Regions from separate parts of the Homo sapiens genome. Here region 2 is linked to region 1. The links are contacts of gene promoters, found by promoter capture Hi-C in blood cells and fetal thymus (Javierre and others, 2016). All regions are on one chromosome and are shown on one strand. The core of a region is centred on a gene start or on the middle of the fragment in contact, and the rest is flanking DNA. Distances in the headings are between cores, read along the strand shown.

Region 1 (4,218 bases), core at 588-3,087:
GATTTCGGTTAGCCTTCCCAAGGAAGCCTGTGATATCGATTTGCCTCCAAGTTTAAAACACACCGCAAACCTTCCCCTCGGCCGACCGAAGAAACGGCATTTTTTTCCTACTCCTTTGGGGCAGTCCCCTGAGCACGTGCCTGAAGTCGAGGTTAGTACGCAGCCAGCAGGGACCCTGACAGGAAACCAGAGCAGCCCCGGGGTTGGGGGAGCCCTGGTAGGTGCTGGTCGTCCCGGACACGCCTCTTCTGGAGAAGCGCGTTTGTCCCTTACTTGGGAGGTCCCGGGTATCTGAAGCGGATCCCGGGTCTGGGGACATGAAGGGGCGCCGTGGCCTTAGGGAAGGCCCCAAAGAGGCCTAGGCCCCGGAGGAGGCAAGAGCCGCGGCCTAGCTTCCACCGCGTACCTGGGGCCAGACACGGCTGGGGCGGCGCCGGAGAGCAGAACTCCAGGCTCTGAAGGCCGAGGGTGCGAATTGTGGTCCCCTCCCACCCACGGCCTCCCCATCACGCGCACGCAGCCCGCGAGGGGCGCCCTCCGCGCCACTGCCCCAGGGACACCGTTCATCTGAGGAACTCTCGCGCCCTGCGTTTCGTGCCGACAGCGACGCTCGGAGTCCCACCTGGGAAACCTGGGTTGGCCCGGAAACCTCGGGAGGCTCAGAGCTTGCGTGAGGCGCTCGCGGCGCCCCAGCATGCCGCCCCGTCGCGGAGACCTCACCTTGCAGCCCAGAAACCGAACCCAAGCCCACTGCAGGGCGAAGGGCCCACGCGTTCCAACTGGCGCGAATATAACCATTCCCAAGACCGGCCCCTCCCCTCCCCCCACGAGACCCCTCCCGCCGTTCAAGGTCACACCAAAACCCATCATTCTCTATATCACATACTGAAAATGATTTTATTTTATCCATTTACATTTAACTTGATATAAACTTGTCCGGAAAAGTCAAATAATATGCTTTATATTAGCTCAAACATTTATTAAGAAAACCGAATTCCATAAATAAACACAGACATTAAGTTAAAACATATCACAAATTGACCAGTATGTAACAAGAATGCTTTATCTACACAAAACATCCTATTTCACATATTTGTTCATTCTTAGAAAGCGCTTCTGTTCTCTGGGTTTGGATTTGACCAGCACATGCAGAAAGAGCTGATTGTGTTTCTCTGTACAAAGTTGCAGGGTTGTAGATGTCCGAGTGCCCCCATCGGCTGCCAGCAGGTGGCCGAGGGGCACGAGGGACGACAGGACCACCACAAAACAACCAAGGGCACAGAGCAGCGAGAAGACAGAAACAGAAAAGGAAGCAAACAAACCCCAGTCCTGAAGGATCCAGAAAAGAGATGTGGCTTTTGCTTTTACAAAAGAAAATTTTGCTTACACGTTTATTTTATTCTTCCTTATAAAGACTTATCAAAATGGGTCAGATCACCTCTTCCTCGTCACATGACTGCTTTAGTCTACTCCAGCCACCCAATCCACTGTCACGTTCCTCCTGAGAAGCCTTCCCTTCTACACTCTCACACAGTTGTGCTTAAGAAAATGAAAATAAGATAAAATAAAAATAAAAGCGTTATCTTGCAAGCCAAGAGAGGGCTGCACGGATGTGACTGGGTGGACTGGGCAAGGGTAGCGTGGTGGGAGAGGAAAGAAAGACAGGAGCTTGGAGAGTACAAGGATAAATCAAATCATATCAGTTGGGCCCTCAGATGAGGCGGTTGGTAGCAATGCTTGTCCTCCTTTAAGACAAAAATCCCTAACATTGTGCTGTCCCTTGAACACGTCCGTGTGTGACCTAGGTGCACCGTGTCTGTGCGCGCGCGTGTGTAGCGTCTGAGCGTGAGCGAGAGTGCGAGTGTGTGTGTTTCTGCCCACAAACCAGTCCATTGGTGTCTGATTTCAGATCCTGAGTCGACTCCCTGGTACGTAAAATGGCGGGAAGGATACTTTTTGCCGGGCGCGGGAGGAGGGTCGCGAAGTGTGGGGAAAGAGGGGACCGGAGGGGAGGCGGCGGGCGAGGGGGGTCGTAGGCGTCGCGTCGAAGGTGTGGGTGGGAACGCCGCCCGTCAGAAGGCCAGGAGGAGGGCGCGAGCACGGCCAGCGCAAGCAGGGAGGCCAGGGTGGCGGGAAGGGTGGGCTGAGGCGCTGGAGACCGAGCCGAGGGCGCAGCTGGGTGGGAAGGGAAGAGGGGCGGCCGGGAGACGGGGGACCGCGGGCGATCGAAATCAGGCGGAGGGGAGGCCTCGCGGGCTGGGGCTTGGGGTGAGCCCGAGCGAGTGGAGGAGAGAGGCGAGGACGAAACGAGACGGGGCGAAGGCCGGGGCGGGACGGGGCAGGGCGCCGGGGTCCGGGTGCGCGCCGGAAGGGCCTCGGGGCGGCCCCCGGGGCGGTGCTGGGGGCGGAGCGGGCCGGGGCGCGGCTGCATTAAGTGAAGCTCATAGAGACTGTGTGCTCTAGCGCCTTGCGGCGGAGGGAGGCGATGCTGGTGCCCCGCCACACGTCGCTGCTGTCCGGGGAGCTGCAGAGCTGGGGCGAACCGGAGACGTTGCTGGGGCCGGGGAGGGAGGCGGGCACCATGCCGGGGAAGGCGGGCTGGTAGAGGTGCGACTGCAGCCCCGCGCCGTTGGAACCCGCCAGGCTGTTGGACAGGCCCATGGAGTTGGGCGGCGGACCGGCCGCCAGGCTGCACTGGGACAGCGACTGCGCCATGGCCTGCTGCCTGCCCAGCGCCGGCGGCAGAGGCAGCTGTGACACGCCAGGCATGGCGGCCGCCGCCCAGCGGGTGTCGTTGGCGTGGAAAGAGCACAGGCTGTCGCCCATGGCGGCGGCAGCGGCGGCGGCAGCCGACGGGAACTGAGGCAGGCCTGGCGTGGGCAGCAGTGTGCCGGGCGCACGGAACACGTTGGTCGTCTTTTTGCGCTTCTTCCACTTGGCGCGTCGGTTCTGGAACCAGACCTGGAGCGGGCGGGGCGGGAGACAGACAGGGAGCTATTAGCCGGCCCGGCGGCTGGGGAGTTGGGGCTTGAGCCCCAGAAACCCGCCTCGGATACAGCCGCTCTGCCCTGGGAGGAACAAGTGCCGTAGGCCCGACAAGCCCCCATACCCAGCCGGAGACTGTGGCTCCCCACCAACTCCTGGCAACTGGCGCCCCCTGCACCCACCAAGCGCGGAGTCCTGCGCTCCTAAGAGCTCGTGCCCCGAAGAGTTTACGCACTGTGCAAACACACCAAATGTGTGCAGTCTTCACCACGCCCCTGCACATTCTGTGCACTGCACAGATTCACAGGTCTGCAGTCAGGCATGTGTCAAAGTTCGACCCACAGGTGTACAAATGAAGATAAACGTGTACCCATGTAGCTTAATAGCATGCCTTATAACACTGATGTGCTATAGAATTTTCAGAAACGCTGGAAATTTGGAAATTGATGACAGGCTGTGGATGACATAGTTTCAAAATCGAAAGACAAAGGAAAACCCCTAACGCTACGGTTGACAGAGCGGAGAGGTTAATACAGTGATCTGCGTGGGAAAGTGAACGCCACTGAGCTACAGTGTTGTTTGGGTCACCACCATGACTTCCGATTCCTCCCATATTGCTTCGTGCTACTGCCACAACTCTCCGTGCCTCATTCCCAAACCACTCTATGGACACCTTTGTCTGGGCTGTACGAGTGGCTGGAACCTGCTGCCCCAAGAGCCTTCAACCCTATTCTTTTTTTTTTTTTTTTTTTTTTTTTGAGACGGAGTCTTGCTCTGTAGCCCAGGTTGGAGTGCAGTGGCACGATCTCGGCTCACTGCAACCTCCGCTTCCCGGGTCCCGGCTGAAGCAATTCTCCTGCCTCAGCCTCCCGAGTAGCTAGGATTACAGAAACGCGCCACCATGCCCAGATAATTTTTGTACTTTTAGTGGAGACGGGGTTTCACCATGTTGGCCAGGCTGGTCTTGAACTCCTGACCTCGTGATCCACCCGCCTCGGCCTCCCAAAGTGCTAGGATTACAGACGTGAGCCACCGCGCCAAGCCAAAGTCTATTCCTTTCAGGAACTTACCAAGGGTCCCAAGTAACAAGGCCTCCAGTTCCCTCAAGTCGCCCCCATTTCATTTATAAACTAAAAGCAAATTTTCGGACCAATATGAATTAAAGGAGGTCACATTTCACTACGAGATATATGAATCAAATTTAATTTTGCTCAGACAAACCCAAACGTCCTT
Region 2 (4,053 bases), core at 466-2,965, 380 kb after region 1:
TTAGGTGTTTGTTACCTGGAAGCTTTCTAAAATTTAGAACATTATTACAGTCATACTTTAGCTATAAAAGCAAATATGAAATATTTTTCAATTCAGTATGATGGGACTTGAGAAGCAAGTTAAGACAGCACAGGCTATTCTTAAGTATCTACAGGTATTTTATTGACTTTTGACCCTGTAGTAACTTGGGCCCTCCCCCAGGTTACAGAGCCAAACACCAGGCCACTGATGATACGGCTAGAACAGAAAAGCCTCAAGACACTGTGGATGAGTATGAGGACCACGAACATTAAGTTTTGGGTTCAATCTCTGCACTCCAAAGTCAAATATAAATGGTTCTTAGTTGTGTGTCTCCTCTGTATTAGCATGGACAATTGAGAATTGATTGTAATTTTAATTTAAATCATTTGAGCAGGTATTACAGGTATTACATTCCAAACCAGCAAGACAAGTTACTGGCAAACTATCTTTAATAAGAATTATACAACTGTGCTAAGGGTCCCTCTAAGTCTATCTCCCAATAGGAAGATAGCTTTCATTTTATGTGGCTTTGTAACTTCACTTTTCTTCTTTCTTTTCTCTTTTTTTGAGACAGGGTCTCACTCTGTCACCCAGGCTGGAGTGCAATGGTGTGATCACAGCTCACTACAGCCTTGACCTCCATGGGCTCAGGCGATCCTCCTACCTCAGCTTCCCAAGTAACTGGGACTACAGGCATGTGCCACCATGCCGGATTTAATTTTATATTTTTTGTAGAGACAGGGTCTCCCTATGTTGCCCAGTCTGGTCTTGAACTCCTGGGCTCAAGAGATCTACCCACTTTAGCCTCCCAAAGTACTGGGATGACAGATGTAAGCCACCTTGCCCAGCCTTGACATTTTTTCTTCTAAGAAACAAAAATCTAGACAGCTGCCATTGCTTTCAGAAAAGTTAACAAAAAAAAGAAACCCAAAACAACCTATACACAAAACAAAACTAAACTAGATGTTCCAGCATAAACAGTGGCTACTCTATATTAAAACAAGACTGCAGTATTGCTGGATACTAGGTGTTTCAGGTAAAATTTCATACTGAAGAAGTTATACTTGATAATACAGCATTTTGGTGTTTTAGTAAATTCAATAATTCCAAGGACCCATAAATAAAACAAAACAGTTTCTGTTAGAGAAAATTACCTAGGAAAGTGAAAAGAAGTATTTAAAGCAGAATAAAATTAAAACAGGAAAACTCAAAATATTTATTTTCACTGAAAAGGCTTTTGTTACTCTTTTCCCTATTGAACAACATTAACTGATAAATAAGTTGTATTTTTGTGGTGGTCTGTATCATGACCTTACATCCATTTTCTTATTTTATCACCATCCTATGTGAGATAGATAGAGCTTGTCAAAAACTAAGAAATGAAAGACACCGGGCGCGGTGGCTCATGCCTGTAATCCCAGCACTTTGGGAGGCCGAGACGGGTGGATCATGAGGTCAGGAGATCGAGACCATCCTGGCTAACACAGTGAAACCCCGTCTCTACTAAAAATACAAAAAATTAGCCGGGCGTGGTGCCGGGTGCCTGTAGTCCCAGCCACTCGGGAGGCTGAGGCAGGAGAATGGCGTGAACCCGGGAGGCGGAGCTTGCAGTGAGCCGAGATCGCGCCACTGCGCTCCAGCCTGGGTGACAGAGTAAGACTGTCTCAACAACAACAAAAAAGAAATGAAAGCATGAGACCTCTTGAGCAACTTAAAAAAAAAAAAAACAGTACAAGGTAAATCTATTTTTCAACTAGTACATGCAGTTTTTATTCCGCCGTGATTAGTACAGTGAAGTTAGGCAACTACGGATACAGTAATGGCAGGTCAGCTCTTCTGAAGTCAAATCTAATGTTCTTTCATAGCTATCACAGAATTTCATTTCAATCCTACCTCACTTTTTCTTCCTGCCACCCATTTCCAAACACATAAGGAATGTAAAGCACATAAGAAGTTATAACTTCCCCAAGATTACCAAGCCCATTAGTGGCAGAGTTAGATCTAAAACCCAAATCACCTGTAGCATTTTTCATATGGGGCCTCTCTTGCTCCTGTGTTAACTTAAAAAAATGTTTTTTAAGGTCTGCAGGCCTTCCCTTTGATGCTAAATTTGTTTTCTATGATTGATAATTATATAAGAAAGGGCACACTAAATATACAGTGTGTAGATATTTTTAATGGCAGAAGTATGCCTGCCATGAGATGGTTTGCAACGAATTCCCTTAAGCTCACAGAGGACTGTGCAATCACCAAATGGATAAGAGATAATTATTTTTATCTTTACATTCATTTAAAGCCACTGGAATTCATAAAAATACAAGAGGGCAAACATTAATCACATTTTCTGCTGCCTTTCAGGACAAATAACTTGGATCTCATATTTCAGATGCTTGGTGATAGAAAATATTACTGGTCTAAGAAACAGAAGCTGTATTTACCCCCATGTTGGTCATCTAGCAGCTCTTTATTTACTGGAAGCAGTCTCAGGGGATGGCTATCAAAAGGAAATCTGTATGTAGTACCCAAACGTCCTCCCTTTCAATTAAAAAAGTCCAACTATACTGCTTTATAGAATAGTTCTTCCTGGACATCTACTGAATCTGGTGAAATAAGATAAACTCTCAACCACCTCAAAAAGGGTAACTTTATAAATTACCAAGCTATTATAAAATGTGAATATGCTCTGTATATCTTTCAGGAAAGACCATGCCAGTATGATAAGGATGCTCTGAGATGGGAAAGACAGCCTTAATGCAAAGCAATCAACAACTATACCATCAGAAAAAAAAGGGAGTGTGTGTATATATATATATGTTTAGGGGTTATTATTTCCAAAGAAAACAATGAATTTAAAATTATATATTTATACATATTCAAGTCATCTTCACCTCCACATCGTGTGTTAGTGAACCTACCTGTGTATATTATCCTGGCCAGAAGGGACTGCACCTACATTGGCTACATTTACAACCTTCTGAAAGATCACAGAGGGAGTGAAATTCTGTGGTGCAGCAATGATTACAGCAGAAGTTTCATTCATTCCTGTTAGCACTCCTGTAAAAGCAAAAGAAGGCTCCCTTTTATTAATTTCTTTTTGAAAATTACATTTACAGAATTTTAAGCTCATGGCCAAAATTTTAACTTTTTTTCAACAAAAGAAACACTACTTTAGGATGTAATTTACAAGATAATTATAAAACTAAAACAAAATGCAATTGTTTCGAAGTTTTTTAAAATCCTCATTGTATAGGAAAATGTGTAAAAATTCAGTAAAAAATCACTTAAATCTAATTTTAAGTATGATAGGATAAAAACTTAGAATCACACATATGAAATATCAATTTCAGTCTCTTTAAAGTATACTCAATCTGGGGTTTATGTAAACTAGTAAGCTTTTACTTCTTAATAATATATAAATGTATTTGTTACTATTGCTATTTTTTTCTATTCATTCAAAGATCTCTCATTGCCAAATGCTGCTTGAGAACACATCAAAGTAATTCCAGGATAACTAGCAGCAATACCTGGTAAATGGCCTCAGTATGACAGATCGAAGTTATCTCAACAGTGACTGGAAGTCACTGAAAATGCACAAGTATTTAGGCTATACTTAGAGCTAAAAGTACTTGTCTAGTGAATGGAAAGTGTTTTGCTGACAAAAACACTAATTGAAACTCCTGAAGCAAAAACTTTGAAAATGAAAGAAAAAATGAGAATGAAAACTCTTAAATCCCAGGGACATTTCAAATAATATTTAGGAGAGAAATTAAGTTAAGCAAAAGCATGAAAAAAACCATACAGAGTTAATGCAAGACATGCCATTAATATCCAGACCTCCTGTAAAAATGTTCAGTGAACAAATTCAACAACATACCAAACACTTGGAACAAATACTGAAATTTAGTGCCCGGGTTAAAAAACAAATTAATTACAACAAATGCCATCTATTTGGATCGGTGATATAAGTCATAGACATCTAATGGTTATCTATTAGAACCAATAACTCTTTGAGATATTTGATATGTGCACAGT

What was found. The method cuts DNA at HindIII sites, captures the fragments that hold promoters and counts their contacts. A CHiCAGO score of 5 or more calls a contact.
Region 2: a contact is called between a fragment that was not itself captured here and the fragment with the promoter of OTP-AS1 in region 1, in 2 of 17 cell types (M0 macrophages and M2 macrophages). The highest score is 6.1, in M0 macrophages.

Annotation. Positions count from the first base shown.
Region 1 is chr5:77,627,834-77,632,051 of GRCh38, forward strand. OTP-AS1 (OTP antisense RNA 1) reads left to right here and starts at 1,838. Exons shown (of 2, transcript NR_198942.1): 1 at 1,838-1,928. OTP (orthopedia homeobox) reads right to left here. Exons shown (of 3, transcript NM_032109.3): 3 at 879-2,961. The coding sequence ends at 2,431. RefSeq lists enhancers at 504-1,069, 2,827-2,876 and a silencer at 2,217-2,656. The HindIII fragment of the contact is 19,458 bases long and covers 1-4,218 here.
Region 2 is chr5:78,012,474-78,016,526 of GRCh38, forward strand. AP3B1 (adaptor related protein complex 3 subunit beta 1) reads right to left here. Exons shown (of 27, transcript NM_003664.5): 26 at 2,937-3,075. Among named protein-coding and RNA genes, the nearest start is that of TBCA, 240 kb to the left of the region's middle. The HindIII fragment of the contact is 3,391 bases long and covers 21-3,411 here.